Linked DNA regions of Homo sapiens: region 1 is linked to region 2. Evidence: promoter capture Hi-C in 16 types of primary human blood cells and fetal thymus (Javierre and others, 2016). All regions are on one chromosome and are shown on one strand. The core of a region is centred on a gene start or on the middle of the fragment in contact, and the rest is flanking DNA. Distances in the headings are between cores, read along the strand shown.

Region 1 (3,505 bases), core at 324-2,823, 1.6 Mb after region 2:
TCTGACTCAACAGCAGGGGTTGCTTCGAGACTGTTCCTAACACAGGCCAAGTGTCTTCCTGGGGTAAGACTGGATTAGGGGACCCTGCTCGGTCAGTGGTCCTGGTGATCGCCTAGGGAAATAGATCTATTCTGCTGGGATCTGGGACTGAATCCTAGGCAGGTTTGTGGGGAGTAGGATGGTGAGAGGTGCTGGAAGGCACGGGTCCACTTCTTAACCTTCCTTTTAACTCTGTGCTGCTGGGTGGAAGCTTTATAGTCAATGTCCTCTCCATCTCTGGCCACATTCCCAGGACTCCTGATCATTAGAGTGACTGTTGTCCCAAGTGGACATAATTATAAATAGCTCCCTTCTTTTACTGAAAGTGTCCTACAGTGGACAATAATTTAGTCCCCTCCTCCAGTGGAAAATATACTACACGCATGCAAAAGCTCAGAGGGCTCCAGGAGTCGTCCCAACTCCCCTTTCTCAGTTCCTTGGGATTTTTTTTTTTAAGTTTGTCCTCTACTAGATCGCTTCTCATTCACCAGGATATCTTAGATCAAGGCTGGCGTTTGAAGCCTCTGCCTGAGTTCAAGCCCCTTGCTTCCGGTGTTCCTGTCCAAGCCCGCGGACTGGAATCTCCCAAGGAAGTTACGAATAATTCGGGGGGGGTGGCGAAATGGGGGGTGGAGTGGGGCGTGAAACTGCAGCCTTCACCTGGCTAACAGAAGAGGACTCAGGACGCCCAGCACCCTGGATAGGACCCAACAGCGCTCCCTGGAGGTGTGGGTGCAAAGTTTTGTCTAGCTTGGCCTCCAAGGCCCTCCAGGCAATGCACTGGGAAGGGAAGAATTAGTGATTAAATTTGACCTGAATCAAAAGATGCCTTCAGTTCCTCTTCTGCTGAAAACACTAGAAATACAAGCCCAGGATGTGGGGATCGGGGGCAAGCGGTGACACCAACTAAAAGGAAGCAATGGATTTCCTTTTAAATGGAGAGGAGGATGTCGGAGAGATACCATGAAACGAATTCTCGAAACTCCAGGCAGCAATACCGATGAAAGCGCATTCTTCCAAAACAGAGCTCCTCATTCAGGGCCACATCTGAGCCTGGGGGCCCAATGCTCAGAGCGTGCCTGGCTTTCTGGGGAAAAGCGCCAGGAACATGAACGAGCTACGAAGAGCTGGAGCGGGCGCTGCGGGAGCAGCGTGTGGGGAACGGCTCGGGAGTCGCTGCTGGTAACCCCGGCCCAGCCGCCCGCAGCTGGGCTCGCAGCCGGCTCGCAGCCGACACCCAGGGTGCTGCGCCCGGGGCCCCGGGCCGCGGAAGGATATTTCACTTTGTTTACCTCCCCGGCCGGGCGAGGGAGCTGCGAGGCCGGTGCTGGCGCCCCCGGCACGGAGCTGCAATGGCAGCGGCGCGGGGAGCCGCCCGAGGACTGGCAGCGGCGGGGCTGATTGATGGGCGCCCGGCGCAATGAGGGGGGCCCGGGCGGGGGCGGGGCGGGGCCGGCTCTGGGCTGAGCCAGTCGCGGGGGCGGCGGGGGGGGGGCGGAGGCTCCGTGGAAATGTGTCGGTGACATTGAATGGGGAGACCGAGCGCGAGCGAGGCGCGCGCGCGCACACGCGCACTCACGGCCCCGCTCGCTCCGAGATCCCCGGCCACGTAAGTAACTATTAATACCGCCTCGCCGGGGGATGCGGGCGTGCTGAGCGCGGGGATTGGCCTCGGGCACCGTCGGCCGTCCCCTTTAATTTTTAAATACACGGTCCCCTCTTTTCTCTGGGGGGGGCAAGCAAGAAATCAAAGAAGGAGGAGACAAGCCGTCAATTTTCTCCAAAACAAACCCCACCGGGCAATTTGGTCTCGGGGTAGGGGGAGACGGGGTGATTGCAAATTATTCCAGGACGAGATCCAGTTCTCCAGCGGGAAAGGGGCAAAGGAACGCCGCGCGTTGGAAGGGCCAGGGACGCAGCTCCCCTTGCAGCGCCCGCAGGACCCCCGCAAGCTCGTGCCGGCGAAATCGGAGACCGCCGATCTGTCCTCGTTCTCTCCTGCACGTCTGGCTGCATTCGGAGGAAGACCTGGGGCGCGAGCGAGCGGCGACAGCATGAGCCTGTGCTGACCTCCGCGCGGCGGGCCGAGCCCAGGGCTTTGTCGCGGTACCTGCGCCCAGCCCGCGCCGCAACTCTGTGCCCAGCTTTTGCAATCTTTTGTTGGCAGCGCTGACCGCACCAAGTTAAATGCTCCCTTGCAATTTTTCTTTTTTTTGTTTGTTTGTTTAATTTTTGGAGAGCTCGCGATCTTGGAAAAGCCTCAGACGCCATCTACAGTTAAAACGTAGGTAACTGCCCTCTCCCGCACCCCCCCCTTACACGCCCCCCACCCTTTCCACCAAAAAAAGGGGGTGCAGCGCGGATTCTGGCTGCCGTGCGTCGCCAGCCGGTAGACCCGTGCTTGTTTCCTTTCTCTTTTTGTTTGGCTTCTAACGCGTTGGGACTGAGTCGCCGCCGTGAGCTCCCCGAAGACTGCACAAACTACCGCGGGCTCCTCCGCCCCGTCTGCGATTCGGAAGCCGGCCTGGGGGTCGCGTCGGGAGCCCTGGCGCTGCAGCTCCGCACCTTAGCAGCCCGGGTACTCATCCAGATCCACGCCGGGGACACACACACAGAGTAACTAAAAGTGCGGCGATTCTGCACATCGCCGACTGCTTTGGGGTAACAAAAAGACCCGAGTTGCCTGCCGACCGAGGACCCCCGGGAGCCGGGCTCGGAGCAGACGAGGTATCCGGCGGCGCCCATTTGGGGGCTTCTAACTCTTTCTCCACGCAGCCCCTCTTCTGTCCCCTCCCCTCTCGCTCCCTTTTAAAATCAGTGGCACCGAGGCGCCTGCAGCCGCACTCGCCAGCGACTCATCTCTCCAGCGGGTTTTTTTTTGTTTGTCGTGTGCGATCCTCACACTCATGAACATACACAGGTCTACCCCCATCACAATAGCGAGATATGGGAGATCGCGGAACAAAACCCAGGATTTCGAAGAGTTGTCGTCTATAAGGTCCGCGGAGCCCAGCCAGAGTTTCAGCCCGAACCTCGGCTCCCCGAGCCCGCCCGAGACTCCGAACTTGTCGCATTGCGTTTCTTGTATCGGGAAATACTTATTGTTGGAACCTCTGGAGGGAGACCACGTTTTTCGTGCCGTGCATCTGCACAGCGGAGAGGAGCTGGTGTGCAAGGTAAAGGGCCAGTGGGTTGCTTTTTGTCTTTGGAAGGGGCCCGAGGGAGCGGGAGGGCGCCAGGCCCTCGAGTCTGGGAGAGGGAGATTCGCGGGATAATTACCGTGGCCTTATTAAATGGGTTTATTTATTTATTTGCTCAGGTTCGGTAAGTTGCGAAGTTTTTAGACCGTTTCAGACAATGGGGCGGGCGGCAGTGGGGGCGTTTCGGGGAGAGCCCGGGGAGGAGAGGGCGGCGGGACTGCGCGGGGGCCACGGACACGCGTGCACCGAAGGCTCCAGGAGCTCTC
Region 2 (3,562 bases), core at 595-3,094:
ACACCGTCCTCTCTAAAGACACTCACGGGATGCCTTCTGGGGGTTCAGGGAAGCCAGAACCGCTGCTCCTTGGGCATGGCAGGAACCTGTCGTCGCAGTGCAGGGAGCACAGACACCTCCACGAAAACAGCACTCAGAAAAGCCTGACCCAGGGTCCTAGCTCACAGAGGCCCACCCCGCCGCACTCCTGCTGTGCTCATCTTTACCAGGAAAATTTAAGTCACTAGATGCCACCCTGTGTCATCCCAGCTCCAAGGGGAGGAACAGAGGAGAGACAGAGTCCCAGGCCTGCAGCTCTGATTTTAGACTAATGTTTTTCCAAAAGGTCCCATCCCTCAGCTCCGTCCTCATGCAAGTGTGGGAAGACGAAGCTGGCAGCTCTTTCTGGCCTGGCTCTCAGCCCTGTCTTCTCCACGCCAGCCCTCCGCCCGAGCCCAGTAGGGGCTTCGTTGCCACTGCTCACCCACACCACGCCATGGCAATGGTGACCTCACCTGTTTTTTGCCCCTGTCCTGATGGTTCTGTTCCCTGCAGCTCCCTTGGGGCTCACAGCCCATCGGTATCTCCCCACTGGGTGCAGGATACCGTGGAAAATACCCCGGGGCCTGCCCCCATGTGCCCTGCCACCCCCGTCCTTGTCTCCTCCCCCACATCTCCCAAAATACCAGGCTCTCTCTTGCATCCAAGCTTTTGTGGTCACCCCAGTTTTTCTACCTGGCAAGTCCTTTCACCTGTGAAGTCCCAACTCCTTGCTGCCTCCCTCATAGAAGCAGAATCCAGCAGGGGCACACAGGACTGGCTACAGTGCGAGCTCAGTGGTTCACTGGCTGCCCTGCTGCCCTGCACCCCGGGCACTCTGCGCAGGCCTCTATTCGTCAGGGCTTTGTCTGCACTTAGCTCTTCCCTTACAAAGATAGGAAGCAGCGCGCCAGCTGAATGGACCCACAGAGAAGCTGCGTGGAAGGAACTGTGAATCTGCCAGCACCTACCGGAACAGCACAAAACTCAGAGAACCGGAAGCAGAGAGTGCAGGAGGCAGAAGTGATGAGAGCAGCGGGCGTCCATGGAGCTCAGCTGAGCCAGACCAGGAGAGGCTGCCACGGAGGGAGCCTGGTTGTACCCAGTTAGAGCAGAAACAGGGCTGAGGGCTCGGACCATAAGCCCTCAGATTCTCACTGTTCCTTTCAGCTGGTGACTGACTGTGTGACCGTGGGCGGTCACTTAATCTTGCCGGTAAGGGCCTCAGTTTCCTCATCTGTAGAATGGCGTTGGAAAGGCATGGCTGGGAGGTCTCAGATAAAGCAGAGTGCTGTGTGAACGCTCTGGGTTTGCAGACAGAGTGGATGTTCCTAGTGCATTGCACTCATTTTCCTCGCCCAACATAAGCTCATGACTTCCGCCATCGTTCCCAAACAAGCAGGAAGCTTCACACTGATGCCTGATCCACAATTCCCAAAGCGCCCTCAGGGCCACCATTTCTTGCGAGCCTCGCAGCATCCACGAGGGGGCAGCACAGGACTAACATCGCCCCACGGCCTGACGGGCTGCCGGAAGCAAGTGCAATAATGGTGGGGGTGGCCCCCAGGAGCCCCAGCTTTGCTCCCTCCCCCTCCCCCACCCTGTGCGGAGGACTCCGGCCTTGGGGTAGGGGGCTGCTGAACTGGGCGTGGCATCTAGTCAGGAACTCTCTGCCCCCCAGCCCTAGGGCTCAGATCACACACACACACACACACACACACACACACACACACACACACACGGGGCCCGCCCCTTTCCTAGGAGCTGTCCGTTCCCAGGACAACAGTCAACACAGCACAGGCGGGAGTTCAAAACGAAACTGGGCTCAAATGCTCTCCCCAGCCCGGAGAGCCCTGTCCCCATCGGCCACTCTGAGCTCGAGGCCTAAAGGGACAGTGAGGAGGACCCTGCCCAGGCTCTCCCGGGGTTAGGAGGGACAGAGTGTTCCAGGAGGAGGTTTGAGCTGAGCTCAGGCACAGGTCTCTCTCTCTCTCTCTCTGACACAAGCGCACACACACACACACACTTGCACCATGGGGAGCCACCCCACCCCTGGGCTCCAGAGAACCACATCAGCTGGGTACCGATTGCCCCCCACCAGGCCACCAGCCTCGGTCTCCCCAGCTGCCCGGGGTGGCCCTATGGCCAGCAGGGGTCTTGCTGGTGGCTGCCAGGCCCCCCAGGCTCTGAAGGCGCAGCGGGTGGCTCAGGGAGCTGCCTGCGATGGCGTGCAGCAGGACCAGCTGTGGCGGGAGCTCCTGGAGGCCGAGCGGCGGGGCCAGCAGCGCTGGTGAGTACCTGCCCTCCCTTTTCCACCCTGACTCCGCAGCCTGACTGCAAGTTGGGGAAGGTTTTGGAGAAAGGGAGATGGGAGGGCAAATGATCTGGCTGAGGGACAGAGGGCATGGCATGCCCGGGGGAAGGTGGGTCACCAGCCCAGCCCAGAGCCAGACCCGAGCCTGAGCCTAAGAAGCGAGGAAGATGGAAGCCAAGACCAGATGCCGCTGGGTCAGAGCAGCCCCACCTCGTTCATTCCGACTGCGACGCGGCCGGTAATCCCTTGAGCTGGAGCCTGCTGGCCTAGTCTGGGTTAGAGGAGCTGGCTGTCTGACCTGACTCGGGGAAAGGATGCTCCTTCATGCATTCATTCAACCAAAAATACCCATGAGCCGCTCTGAAACGAGACCAGACTGCAACAAGGGACTAGACAGACCTGGCCATGGCTCCACCGAGCCTTCATACTCAGGACAGGGCAGCCAAAAAGCAAGCAGAGAAGCAAACAAGTACAAATCTGTATGAAGTGTGACCAGCGGTAAGAAGGAAACAGTTCAGGGTCGGGGGCAGAGCCGGCTGAAGGCCTCTCTGAGGAGGAGACATTTAAGCTGAGACATGAAATAGGAGAAGGAGCCAAGAGTTTGATGTATCTAAAAAACAAAACAAAGAATTCGTGTAGCTGAGGCACAGGGAGTGAGGAAGGCCACAGGATGAGGGGGAGCAGCGGGGGCCACCCCAGCCCTTATAAAAGTCTGGATGCATTTTTTCCAAAGGAGACACCATCCAGGATTTTAAGCGGGAACATGGCATGATCTCGATTACATTTTTAAGTGAGCAGCCTGATAGATTCTAGGATGCATTCATCTTGCACCACTGAAACTTCATACCCGTTGATTAGCAACGCCCCATTCCCCCTCCTCCCAGCCTCTGGCACCCACCATTCTAGTCTTTGCTTCCAGGAGTCTATTTTCAGTGCCTCATAGAAGTGGAATTGTGCAATATTTGACTTTCCATGTCTGTTTTGTTAGTATCCTGTCCTCCAGGTTCATCCATCTTGTTGCATATCGCAGAATTTCCTCCCATTTTAAGGGTGAATGTATATATGTGTGCAGTTTCTTTATTCATTTGTCAATGGACTTTTAGGTTGCTTCCACATTTGACTATTATGTGTAGTGCTACAATGGGCATGGGAGTGATTTCAGTTCTTTTGGAGAAATTCTCAAAAATGGATATCTTAGTCCATTTTGCATTGCTGTCAAGGAACACCTGA

What was found. Contacts are between HindIII fragments. The CHiCAGO score rates a contact against its expected background, and 5 or more counts as called.
Region 1: a contact is called between the fragment with the promoter of TRIB2 here and the fragment with the promoter of CIMIP5 in region 2, in 2 of 17 cell types (fetal thymus and neutrophils). The highest score is 12.3, in fetal thymus.

The regions. Positions count from the first base shown.
Region 1 is chr2:12,715,363-12,718,867 of GRCh38, forward strand. TRIB2 (tribbles pseudokinase 2) reads left to right here and starts at 1,574. Exons shown (of 3, transcript NM_021643.4): 1 at 1,574-3,215. The coding sequence starts at 2,946. LOC124905974 (a long non-coding RNA gene) reads right to left here and starts at 1,396. Exons shown (of 2, transcript XR_007086222.1): 1 at 1-1,396. RefSeq lists silencers at 1,162-1,381, 1,472-1,531 and enhancers at 1,484-2,123, 1,972-2,041, 3,403-3,505. The HindIII fragment of the contact is 5,863 bases long and covers 249-3,505 here.
Region 2 is chr2:11,131,284-11,134,845 of GRCh38, forward strand. CIMIP5 (ciliary microtubule inner protein 5) reads left to right here and starts at 1,845. Exons shown (of 3, transcript NM_001371321.1): 1 at 1,845-2,308. The coding sequence starts at 2,052. It overlaps FLJ33534 (Putative uncharacterized protein FLJ33534), which reads right to left and starts at 893. Exons shown (of 9, transcript NR_040080.1): 1 at 732-893. The HindIII fragment of the contact is 3,513 bases long and covers 1,423-3,562 here.